2 separate regions of the Homo sapiens genome follow, and region 1 is linked to region 2. Evidence: promoter capture Hi-C in 16 types of primary human blood cells and fetal thymus (Javierre and others, 2016). All regions are on one chromosome and are shown on one strand. Each heading gives the region's core, a stretch centred on a gene start or on the middle of the fragment in contact. The rest is flanking DNA. Distances are from core to core; before and after follow the strand shown. Region 1 holds the start of NPC2 (NPC intracellular cholesterol transporter 2). Region 2 holds the start of NEK9 (NIMA related kinase 9).

Region 1 (5,949 bases), core at 3,442-5,941, 630 kb before region 2:
TGAGGCAGGAGAATCGCTTGAACTGGGGAGGCAGAGGTTGCAGTGAGCCGAGATTGCGCCACTGCACTCCAGCCTGGGTGACAGAGCAAGACTCTGTCTCAAAAAATAAAATAAAATAAAATAAGACTGATTCCAGAAGCCTACTCACTTCCGAGTAAGCAGACTATGGAATTTAAGAGGAACTACCACTTAACACTGAACAGAGGAGTGACCCTAAACAGAAAAACCACCTACCATCTCTGAACTAGGAATGACCCTTAAGAGAGGAACTACCTCCCACTTCTGAATTGGGAACTGCACCATTTTCACTGCACTTCTGCAGTTTCTTCAATGATTTAGTCCTGTTCTTTAAGGCCCACTTATGAGTCATGAAATATTTTGGCTCCAAAAACAACAGGAAGTACCTTAAATCTTGACTAAGGTTGTTAAGATCTGGATTTTTTCCAAGAATCAAGGGGATGAAGAGGAGTACAGAGGTTAAGGTCTTTATAGTTTCAGTACAAGCTTAGGGCACAAGTTAAGCTTAACTCCAAATAGCACTGACTCACACAGCCAAGATGGCAGAAGTGCCAGCTGCATTAAAGAAGAATACTGCTACCTGAGTCTGGGTTTCATTTCCTCTGAAATATTAACTTGGCCTAGGTCTATATAGCTGCTGGGAATGATACACTTGCAAATACTGCATATGTTAAAAACATAAGGATGAGACCTAAGAAGGTACTAGAAAGAGTCAGAAATAGGATTTATCCCTGGGAATCCTCAAAACAAATACATATTTTTCAAAATTAAAAAATTTAAGAAAAGAAATTGGATTCATCTGACTTGTCCAGGTTGTTTCTAAGTAGTTTCAAAAACTGATTTTAAGCACACATCTGCAATCTACAGATGTATACTCGATTTTGGGAACCTGCGTTCTTAAAATAAGTGTGTGTGTGTGTGTCTGTGTGTGTATGTATGTATTTTAATCTCAGTCTAACCAAGGACAAAAGTACTTGTATACAATAAATGCTTGACCAAAAAAGGTTTAAATAAAGCCTTTAAAAATCCCATTTCCTCCTGCCCCAGAGACTGGGCAGTTGAATGGGAGAGAATGCAGGTGAACTGCCTGATAACAGTGCCTGTAACAGGGTAAGTTAAGTTCTGCCATTCAGCCATCATTGCTGAGAGGCAGACTCTGGTGCCGGATGCCTGGGTTTGAAATCTCACTATCTCTGCTACTTACTGTATAGCCTCAAGGCAAGATACTTTACCTCTCTGGAGATAATGGTGTAGCTGAGCTAACACAAATACAGATCTTAGGTAAGTGTTTGGAACATAGTGATACATATATTTACTATTATTATCATATCTGGATTTAGTCCATGAGTTTAATCTAGAATAGCTGCTCCTGGGTAGGTTAGCAAGTTCCCTTCTGACACAAAAACTGGACCTCTCACCTCAAATATACTTTGTGGATAGAAATTATGTTTCTAGCCAATAGGATGGACTCTTTCTGTCTCAAAAGTGGAATGCATGAAGACAGAGGCAAACTGCAGGTTGAGAGTACATTATCTGCTATGCAGTCAGTCACCAGATTAGCTCAGTACTATAAAAGTATGATATGAACTCAGAAATCTAAGTAGATGTTCTTTGCTGCCTGTACCTACCCTTGGGTGGAACAGTCTCTTTAACTATCATCACACTGACCAACACTGCTCCAGCTAGGTCAGTAAATAGTACCTTGCAGTCCTTTATCCCTCAGCTTGCTTCTCCATCATTGCAAAGTTCTTAAACTGCACACACTCTTAAGCATCCAAAACAGTTTGAGAAACACTCTCTTCCACTCCAACCCATTTTTGGTGAATAGGGAAAAAAGAAATCCCGAACTTCAATCAACAATCTATTGAAAATCAGTGCTAATGTTAAGGCTTTCAATGTCCAGCTTCCACCTGCTTCTTTCAAGGCTGAGTCACATAATCTAGTAGGAAGTAAGTAAAGGGTAGTACTTATAGCTCTTTCATCCAGTTTTCTGATGACAAGAGGTTCTTAGACTTCCAGTGTCAATAGAACAAACTCCTCTGTTCTAACCAGCAAACATTACAAAATTAGTTTGCTTGGTCCACTTTCTCACTTGAGGAAATCCCACGCCAGGGAAGGTGGGTGTAGAGTGGAACACAAAAATCTTTGATGTGGGCACTGAAGTCTTTATATCATATTTCCCAATTCAAAAGTAAATTATAAATCTGTAACTGAAACCCTTCTTCCCTTTAAAAGCTTCTTCCCATAGGTGTACTCCTGCTTTTTCAAATAAGTAGAATAATTTCTGGATTTATTTCCCTTCTTTTTTTGGAAACCCAAAGTGGCTCACAAAGACCCACGGTTTCCTACCACTTACTGGGTGTGAGATCTTGGGCAAGTTACTCTATGTGCTTCGCTTTCCTCATCTGTAAGACAGCTTGTGAGGATGGAATGAGTTATTTTATTTTATTTTATTTTTTTGAGACGGAGTCTTGCTCTGTCGCCAGGCTGGAGTGCAGTGGCGTGATCTTGGCTCACTGTAACCTCCACCTCCCGGGTTCAAGCGATTCTCCTGCCTCAGCCTCCCGAGTAGCTGGGACTACAGGTGCACACTACCATGCCCAGCTAATTTTTGTATTTTTAGTAGAGATGGGGTTTCACCATGTTGGCCAGGATGGTCTCAATCTCTTGACCTCGTGATCTGCCCGTCTTGGCCTCCCAAAGTGCTGGGATTACAGGTGTGAGCCACTGTGCCTGGCCGGAATGAGTTATTAAAATTAATAGTGTCTTCATCCAAACGCTGGCTACTAAGTTTAATGGAGGGAAAGGCAGTAATTTGAAGCGATAATAGCTTTCAAGTGCCAGTCTCCTAAATCAATGGAATAGCATTTAAGTGTTAATCGGCCAGCACTCCATTCCTTAATCAATCCTGTCCCCTAATCCCCAACTTTGCTTTTGTCTCAACATGAATTTTTATGACATAGGGGAAAAAGATTTCCATCTATGTTTTCAACACATTTCATTGAGCAGTTACTATTACCTGGGCACTGGATATAAAGCAGCAAACTTATGAAACCGCCTTTGCAAAAATCCTGAGGAAATTAAGACAGTGAAAGAGATCAGGACTCACCTACCCATCTTCCTTCTAACCTCTAAACTGTCTTTGTTCATTCCTGGGTGTAGGCTGAACTAGTCTTGGAGAGGAATTTATAGTTTAAACTCTGAAACGAAATGGATAATAGCCCTTTCCTGAAAAACCCCTTCTTGCCTGGGGACCGGTCTGCCTTTGTAGGACTAACAAATTAGCTACGAGTTTAGGGGCCACGCCGCCTCTGGCTGTAAGAGTCTGAACCTCCCCAAATTGCTCCTGGTAATGATATCACTATTGTAAAACCTAAGGTCAGTGCTTGAGATATTTTGCAGATCCTGCATTCCGATGCAGCAAATGACACCACCCAGAGGTCAGCAAGAAGAACTCACTTCGACTCTCCTATGATTTTATCTTCAACCTGACCAATCAGCACTCCCCACTTTCCAAGCCCATACCCGCCAAATTATCCTTAAAAACTCTGATCCCCGAATGCTCGGGGAGACTGATCTGAGTAACAATAAAACTCCGGCCTCCCCCACAGCCGGCTCTGCGTGAATTACTCTTTTCGCCACTGCAAATCCCATCTTGATAAATCCGCTCTGTCTAGGCAATGCGCAAGGTGAACCCCTTGGGCGGTTACACTTACTCTGGCTCCCCATTCTGCTGCGTGACTTTAGGTAGGCTACCCAACATCCCTGGAATTCAATGATTGATTATACGATCTCCGTGCTTCCTTTCCACTCATAGATCTTACAAAGTCAGTTTCATGCCTCTTTCATTGACAGTTCTATCTCTCTATCTCCACCTCTGAACAACATTGCTCGAGTTTCTGTTCCGACAATTCTATAGACTCGACTCAATGAAGGCACTCAGAATTTCTACCACCTGTTGTATTTTCCAACAAAGATTCCAACCACAGCGGCGAGAGGGAGTTATGTATCACAAGCTGTGATTAGAGACACAATGAGATTTATACAAGGAAAAACTGATTAAGAATCACAAGATTCCAAAGCCCAAAGGAAGTCCTATTTGTAACAATAAATGATGAAAAAGGGGAATTGACTTTTGACTTGTCAGCAAAAACGAAATTAAAAGAAAAGCAAAAGGAGTTGGAAGGGGGAGGCGGGATTCCAAGATACAAAGCATAAATAAAAAGAAGTTCTGTGCTCCACCCCTCCACCAGAGCTGGATACAGCCCTTCTGTTGTCCGCCCTACAAACTTTAGGAAACTTCAGCAAAAGGCCCACCTCCTGGAGTTCCCAGGAACCCCAAAACACGCGTTCTAAGGAAAGAAACAAAGTTGTGCGCGGTCGGGTTTCATGGAGGCCGGCGCCTTCTCCCCCGACCCAGCCCATTCCAGTTAGGTAGGGTCCAAGGCTCAGCCTGGCCGCCCGAGGGATCCGCCCAGCCCAGCCCCAGGGGTCTCAGCGCGGGGGTCCGGCGGGGCCTTCCACAGAGGGCGCGGGAACCTTGGGCGGGCCTGGGGCTCACCGCAGTCCTTGAACTGCACCGGTTCGGCCTGGGCAGCGGTGCTGAGCGCCAGGAGCAGGAATGTAGCTGCCAGGAAACGCATCGCGGATAACGAAGTTCCAAGCTCGGGAAAGAAGCAGCGGCCGCCCGCGGTCACAAGACAAACCTGTCGGGGCGGGCCCGGGGAGGAGCCCAGTCAGGCGACCTGTCACCAGTAACCACAGCTGAGGCCCGCCCGCGCCCCGCCCCCGGCTCCGGAAAGCCAGCTCCAGCCCTCTCAGGCCCAGAAGCCTGCAGTCTCCGCCCATGCCATCCCCTCAGAGGCCTGACCCGCCCGGACCCACCTCCGCCCCGCCCCGCCTCACTCCTCCCCGCCCCGTTCCTTCCCTTTAGAGCACCTCTCCGGCTTCCTGGGTGCGTCCCCGCCGCTGCCGTCTGGAGCATTCCTAGCCAATCAGACACCTTCTCCTCCCGCACTACCCAATAGGCATGTTGGGGGGGCGGGGCCTCCGTGAAGTCCCGGCCTCCTGTTCGTTCTCTCCGCCTCCCGAGGCCCCGGGTGAGAAACGGGGGAGACGCGAGGGGCGGAGCTTGTGGAGGAAGATGGCTGCCGCCTGGGGGTCGTCCCTAACGGCCGCGACGCAGAGAGCGGTCACTCCCTGGCCGAGGGGCAGGTACCAAGACTAGAAAGGCACCTGGAAAGGGTGTTTGGTTCTGCGCCTCTAGGACAAATGGGAAACTAAGGCCTGTGGGGGATGCGAGGGTTTGGTGGGAGGCCGTCCAGGTGGGGGTCGCCAGGTTTAGCGTGAGGCGCTCCAGGTCGAGGGTTGCAAGGTGCCCCTTCTGCTCCCGGGCTCACCCTCCTCCCTTGCGCGCAGGCTCCTCACGGCCTCCCTGGGACCCCAGGCGCGTCGGGAGGCGTCGTCCTCCAGCCCCGAGGCCGGCGAAGGGCAGATCCGCCTCACAGACAGTTGCGTCCAGGTAGGAGGCCGGACGCGGAGCGGCGGTACCCAGGCGATTGGCGGGAGCAGCGGGAACTGCTCTTCACTCAGCCCTTTAACTCCCGTTTCCCGCTATTCTTGATCCCCCTTCCTGCATTTCAGAGGCTTTTGGAAATCACCGAAGGGTCAGAATTCCTCAGGCTGCAAGTGGAGGGAGGTGGATGCTCCGGATTCCAATACAAATTTTCACTGGATACAGTTATCAACCCCGACGACAGGCAAGGAGGAAGGGGTGGGCCCCCAAAGGAGGTACAGGAGGGACAAAAGTGTCTCCAGTTTAAGGTGCACTTTTATTCCAAATTTAAAGGGTTTACCTGGGATGGTTAACACCGCCCGTCTCACAGTGAGGATGCAGTAAAGGTTTGTTGTTCTGAATCAAAGTAACTAAGT
Region 2 (6,014 bases), core at 133-2,632:
ACTCTAACATCATACATTAACGTGGCATCAGGATAAAAAAGAACACTTAAAAATATTCTCTTGCAACCACTTCTCTCCTTCTCCATCTTTCAGCCTTAAAAGTATGCTGGCTTGGAACACACACCAGAACTGCAGATGGATTTCCGACGGATGAATCACCTTCAGCAACCCCAGCAAGTTCTCATTAAATGTTTACCCTAAAGTAAGATTTTATGATCAAATCTAGTGTATCGTTAGTTTTTGGAAGTAGAATAATCACTGCAGGGTTTTACACTAGTATATATTAACTTGGGATTCCGTGATCCATGGATCTCTCCAAAGGATGTGCATATGTGCAAATGTGTTGATGGAGGGGGCAAGATTACTTTGCTTAGGTTATCAAAGGGGTCCTTGTGCCCCCCAAATTAAGAACTAATGGCTTAGAATATACCAACAAAGTATTTCCCATGCATAAACCCTGCAAGATAAACACTGATAAAGAACCAACACACAAAGATCTTCCCAATGAGCTTCAAGAAAAGCTTCCAACTGAGTGATCACTGCTGAACTTAAAGATAATGACAAAAATAACGGAGTTGCCACGGGTGTGGGGATTTTGAAGCTATGCCCCTCCTCCTCACCCCGACCTTGGAGAACTATATATACAGCATGAGAGGAAGGAAGTTTTGGCAATACCTCACATTCGTATACCACTTTAATTTACAGAACAGAGCCTTCGTTTGATTCTCAAGATAATCTTAAAAAAAAAAGAAAAAGATGATTTCAAGGTATTATCAGTAAGCCCATTTTACAGATGGGGAAACTAAAGCTCAAGAGACGGTTAGGTGACTTAGGACAATCAAAAATGACTAGTCAAACCAATGATCTAGCCAATTTCTAGTGCCGGTGAGTGGGAAGAGTGGTGAAGACCCTAAGACATATACCCCGTGGGCGCCTAAAGCACTAAGCTCACGACGCTGGGAAAGCGGGGCCGAGAAGGAGGGACTCGGGGCGACCCGACAGCGCCAGACAGGGCGGCCGGCGCCGAGGGCCGCTACCTCGGTGCGGCGGTACAGCGTGGCTTCCCCGAAGGCGCCGCGGCCCAGGACGCGGATGGGGATGTAGTGCAGTTCCTCCTGCTCCGCCGCGCCGCCGCCGGCTCGCGGCCCCTGACTGGCGCTAGGCCCCGGACTCGAGTCCCCGCAACCCCCGGACTCGCTCCCAAAGTCCGAGTTGATGGAATCGCAGTGTCGCTCGTACTCGCCCAGCACCGACATGGCGGCGGCCGCGGGCCTTGGGGACCAGCCTGCGTATGCCCGGAGGCCCTGGCCGCGCTGCGTCCCGCTCGCTTCAGATGCCGGCCCGCGGATCCGTCAGCCCAGCAACCCCGCGAAGCTCGATGGTGGCTCCTGCCCCCCGACCCGGAAACAGTTCTCTGTGTTTCCGGCCTGGCTGAGTTTCCTCCGCCTTTGCTTACCCTCTTGGCTAGTCTAGCGGCCAAGGCTTCCCGCTTTCGGGGAAGGCCTGCAAAGTGAGGCCTCGGGCTAGGGTTGGCGGGCGCGTGGTGGGAACCGCGTGGAACCGAAGGGCTCCCACGGGAACAAGGGCATCACTGACGGTACGGCCTCTCGGGTCTATTGACCCTTCTCTGCCTCCCCGGTCCGGACTCATACAACTTGGAGGCCCAGAGGTCGTCCAGTCTCATCTTGACGTCAGGTCTGTGACAAGAGGGTGATTGGGGAAGCATTCCCAGTGTACACCTTCTTCCCCATTCCAACGTTGGACAGCATTCTTTTTTAGAGAGATAGTATAGTAAAGATAATATGGCCGGGCAAGGTGGCTCACGCCTGTAATCTCAGCATGTTAGGAAGCCGAGGCGGGCGGATCACCTGAGGTCAGGCGTTTGAGACCAGCCTGACCAACTGGTGAAACCCCGTCTCTATAAAATACAAAAATTAGCCAGGCGTGGTGGCAGGCACCTGTAATCCCAGCTACTCCAGAGGCTGAGGCAGGTGAATCACTTGAACCCGGAAGGAGGAGGTTGCAGCGAGCCGAGATCGCGCACTACACTCCAGCCTGGATAACAGAGCGAGACTTTGTCTCAAAAAAAAAAAAAATAATAATAATATAGACAGCCTAAATGTCTGCCTCCGGTCATCTCGGTCCCTGGGCCGAGTTCTTTCTCCCAGGGCCATCCTAAGTCCCTCCCTCTTCTACACAACTCCAAAAATATTTTAAGTCAACTCTCCTGACACTTTCCTTCTCCCCCGTCTCTTTTTCCAGATTCAATTTATTCTATGTGTTTTTCCAGATATTTGACCATATGATATCATGAAACATTCTTTGAGCACTTGGTGCCACACACTGTTTGGGAACAGGAAATCTGCAATAATGTTCTCCCTACCGTCAAGTAGGAAAACAGCAATACGGTGAACAATAGGTGTTCCATCAGTTATGTGACCTTGGGCAATTATGTGACCTTGGGCAACTTCTCATCTCCAAGCTTGTTTTGTTGTGAGAATGTGGTCTACATCACAGACATAACAGCTAACATTTATTGAGTGTTATGTTCTGGGTACTATGCTAAAGGTTTTTTACGTATTATCTCACATTATTATGTATTATCCTATGTATTATGTATTATGTATTATCCTAACATTCCCATTTTACAGAAACAGAGGTACCTAAGTAACCTGCTTAATGTGACAGACCTAGTAAGAGGGAGCTGGGAAGTTGAACCCAGCAATCTGAAAAAGCAGGATGTGATGGGGCTAAGAGAAAGCCATGTGCCTAGCCGGGCGTGGTGGCTCACACTTGTAATCCCAGCACTTTGGGAGGGCCGATCACTTGAAGCCTGGAGTTCGAGTTCAGCCTGGCCAACATGGTGAAACCCCGTGTCCACTAAAAATACAAAAATTAGCCAGGCGTGCACACACCTGTAATCCCAGCTACTTGGGACGCTGAGGCACAAGAATTGCTTGAACTGGGGAGGCGGAGGTTGCGGTGAGCCAAGATCATGCCACTGCACTCGAGCCTGGGCAACAGAGTGAGAACCTGTCTCAAATACATAAAAATACATTGTGTCATATCGATTTGTGAAAAGTTCCTACTTTAAGAGAGCTTACATGTAACAGAAAACCACCAGGCAATTAAAACAGTTTCTATAAGGGCTATTAAAGTGCAAGATTCTAGAGAGGCATTTAGGAGTGGCATCTGTCCAAGCCAAACTTGCTGTGTGAGTGCAGGAATATACAAAATGTTAAGTCTAAACAAAGTAGAGAGATCATTTCAGGTAGAGGCCATTCCATCTACATCCTCCTATTAATTAGAAGGCACTTTGAGGATAGGTATTGCCTCTTGTTTATCTAGATAAACTCCAGAGTTTAGTTTGGCTTAAATCTGTTAATTCTATTAACTTAATTCTGTTATTCTCGATTAACTCTGTTAAACAGAAAAGATGCTCAATAAATTGTTTCTCAGTTGAATGGGAAAAAACCAATTACTTAAAATTGGGAATGCTGACTTTCAAAGAGGCTGAATAGATTTCAGCCTAAGCTTAAAAATTCATTTTTTTCTGGCACCTTTGCAACGAGGAACTAGTTTTCTATAACGTGGTTGGCCTGAAACTGAATTGTTCTAATGATAATGCATAGATACTACAAGCCTAGAAGAAACATGTCCTATTATAGAGCAGAGACATTCCTGCTGAATTCTTCATTATATTGGATATAACTGAAACTAATTGTCTTACCTTTGAATATTTATAAGTTCAAAAATAGTCAACATTTATTCTAATGGTATAACTTTTTTTTTTTTTTTGGAGACAGTCTCACTCTGTCACTCAGGATGGAGTGCAGTGGCATGATCTCAGCACACTGCAGCCTCCACCTCCCAAGTTCAAGTGATTCTCATGCCTCAGTCTCCTGAGTAGCTGGGATTACAAGCGTCCGCCACCATGCCCAGCTAATTTTTGTATTTTTAGTAGAGAGGGCATTCTGCCATGTTGGCCAGGCTGGTTCTCGAACTCCTGACCTCAAGTGATTGGCCTGCTAAAGTGTTGGGATTACAGGTGTGAGCCACTGCACCTGGCCAAGGTGTAAAATTTTAAAGCGCCTTTGGTTGAAACCAAACTATTTCCACATTGTACTTTAACAAGTGAATGGTTAGAATGCTATTTTGCATTAGTTTCCAATTTGTGAATGGCAAATTCCCAGGGGCCATAGAGTTACTGTCAAGATGAAAGAATCTACCAAAGACCAACCCAAGTTTATACCCTTCACTGTCTGCCACGGTAGCCATTAGCTACATATAGCTACTCAACACTTGAATTGTGGCTAGTCTAATTTTAAGCTATAGATGCGGTATAGCTTGAAATGCACACTGGATTTTCAAGATTTTATATGAAAAATGGAATGCAAAACATCTCATTAACCATTTTTATATTAACTATATGTTGAAATAATATTTTGGGTATATTAGGTTAAATACACTACTAAAAATAATTTTCGGCTGGGCACAGTGGCTGATGCCTATAATTCCAGCACTTTGGGAGGCCAAGGTGAGCAGACCACGAGGTCAGGAGTTCGAGACCATCCTGGCCAACATGGTGAAACCCCATCTCTACTAAAAATACAAAAATTACCTGGGCGTGGTGGCATGTGCCTGTAATCCCAGCTACTCGGGAGGCTGGAGAATCAGCAAATTTTACCTGTTTTTTACTTCTTTAATGTGATACTAGAAAATTTAAAATTATACATGCAGCTCAACATTTTATGAGACACCACTGCAGCAGACTAAATAAATGATTTATAAAGCATGTATTGGGCCGGGCACGGTGGCTCACGCCTGTAATCCCAGCACTTTGGGAGGCTGAGGTGGGTGGATCACGAGGTTGGGAGTTCAAGACCAGCCTGGCCAACATAATGAAACTCCATCTCTACTAAAAATACAAAATTAGCTGGGCGTGCTGGTACATGCCTGTAATCCCAGCTACTCGGGAGGCTGAGGCAGGAGAATTGCTTGAACCCGGAAGGCGGAGGTTGTGGTGAGCCGAGATCATGCCATTGTACTCCAGCCTGGGCAACAAGAGTGAACTCCGTCTCAAAAAAAAAAAAAAAGAAAAGAAAAAAAAATTATACCCCAATAATGGGAACCACTACTTTACACACTATGGATTCATAATAAAATTTATTTGAGGGAGAATGGAGATAAGAGGATAAATAAGAGGCCAGCCAGTGGGTGTGCAAAGCACTTCATATTGGCTCTTGGAAAGTCGCTTTGTGAAAAATGTTCAACTGTAAGTGAAAGGAGAGGAGAAAAGACGTTTACCTCCTGGAGTGGGGTTTTGCATTGGATATGATAGGCCTAAAAAGTGAGTCCTGAGGATTCATATACCGGGGGTGGGGGGTGGGGGTCTTTTAGGAATGAAAGGCAGGGGAGATGGCTCTCTGTAGGAGTGATTCTATGCAATTGCAATTTTAATTGCAAAAACCACAATTACTTTTGTGCGAACCTAATAGTAACAGTTTCCAAAAGAGAGAAGATAAAGAGAATAAAATGCCTAGCTTACAGAACCATATTTGGTCTGAGGATGCATAATTAAGGATTCTTAATTATATATATATATATAATTTACATATATTACATACAAAATATGATAATCTTTTACTAGCTCATATAAACTATCGATCTGCAGTAACTGAAGAATAACAATATTTTTTCTCTAATTCATCAGGTATAATTTGCCATAATTTAAAAGAGAAATATGGAAGAATTATCACCAATCCAGACATAGAAGTACTCAAGAGTAACAGTACACCTAAAATGGTTTCTGCTAGCCTTTATTTGAGAAAATTTACACAAAAATCCCCAATCCAACATTTACAAGTGAATCTGTATAAATCCCATATGCCTCTTTCCCAAACAAACCAAGAAATGGCTTTATGACAGGGGTCCATGACAATGGTATAACAAGGCTTACTTAAACTGCATCATTCTCATTTATATTATACAGACCATTTTGGATAATATGCTCA

The links. Contacts are between HindIII fragments. The CHiCAGO score rates a contact against its expected background, and 5 or more counts as called.
Region 1: the fragment with the promoter of NPC2 here is called in contact with the fragment with the promoter of NEK9 in region 2 in 4 of 17 cell types (naive CD8 T cells, total CD8 T cells, naive CD4 T cells and 1 more); the score reaches 7.3 in naive CD8 T cells.

Annotation. Positions count from the first base shown.
Region 1 is chr14:74,488,614-74,494,562 of GRCh38, forward strand. NPC2 (NPC intracellular cholesterol transporter 2) reads right to left here and starts at 4,692. Exons shown (of 5, transcript NM_006432.5): 1 at 4,580-4,692. The coding sequence starts at 4,661. ISCA2 (iron-sulfur cluster assembly 2) reads left to right here and starts at 5,152. Exons shown (of 4, transcript NM_194279.4): 1 at 5,152-5,232; 2 at 5,437-5,539; 3 at 5,662-5,777. The coding sequence starts at 5,162. RefSeq lists enhancers at 1-376, 5,155-5,234 and silencers at 4,445-4,504, 4,675-4,954. The HindIII fragment of the contact is 4,485 bases long and covers 2,252-5,949 here.
Region 2 is chr14:75,125,666-75,131,679 of GRCh38, forward strand. NEK9 (NIMA related kinase 9) reads right to left here and starts at 1,383. Exons shown (of 22, transcript NM_033116.6): 1 at 1,038-1,383. The coding sequence starts at 1,256. TMED10 (transmembrane p24 trafficking protein 10) reads right to left here. Exons shown (of 5, transcript NM_006827.6): 5 at 5,804-6,014. RefSeq lists enhancers at 1,247-1,296, 1,307-1,436. The HindIII fragment of the contact is 1,961 bases long and covers 520-2,480 here.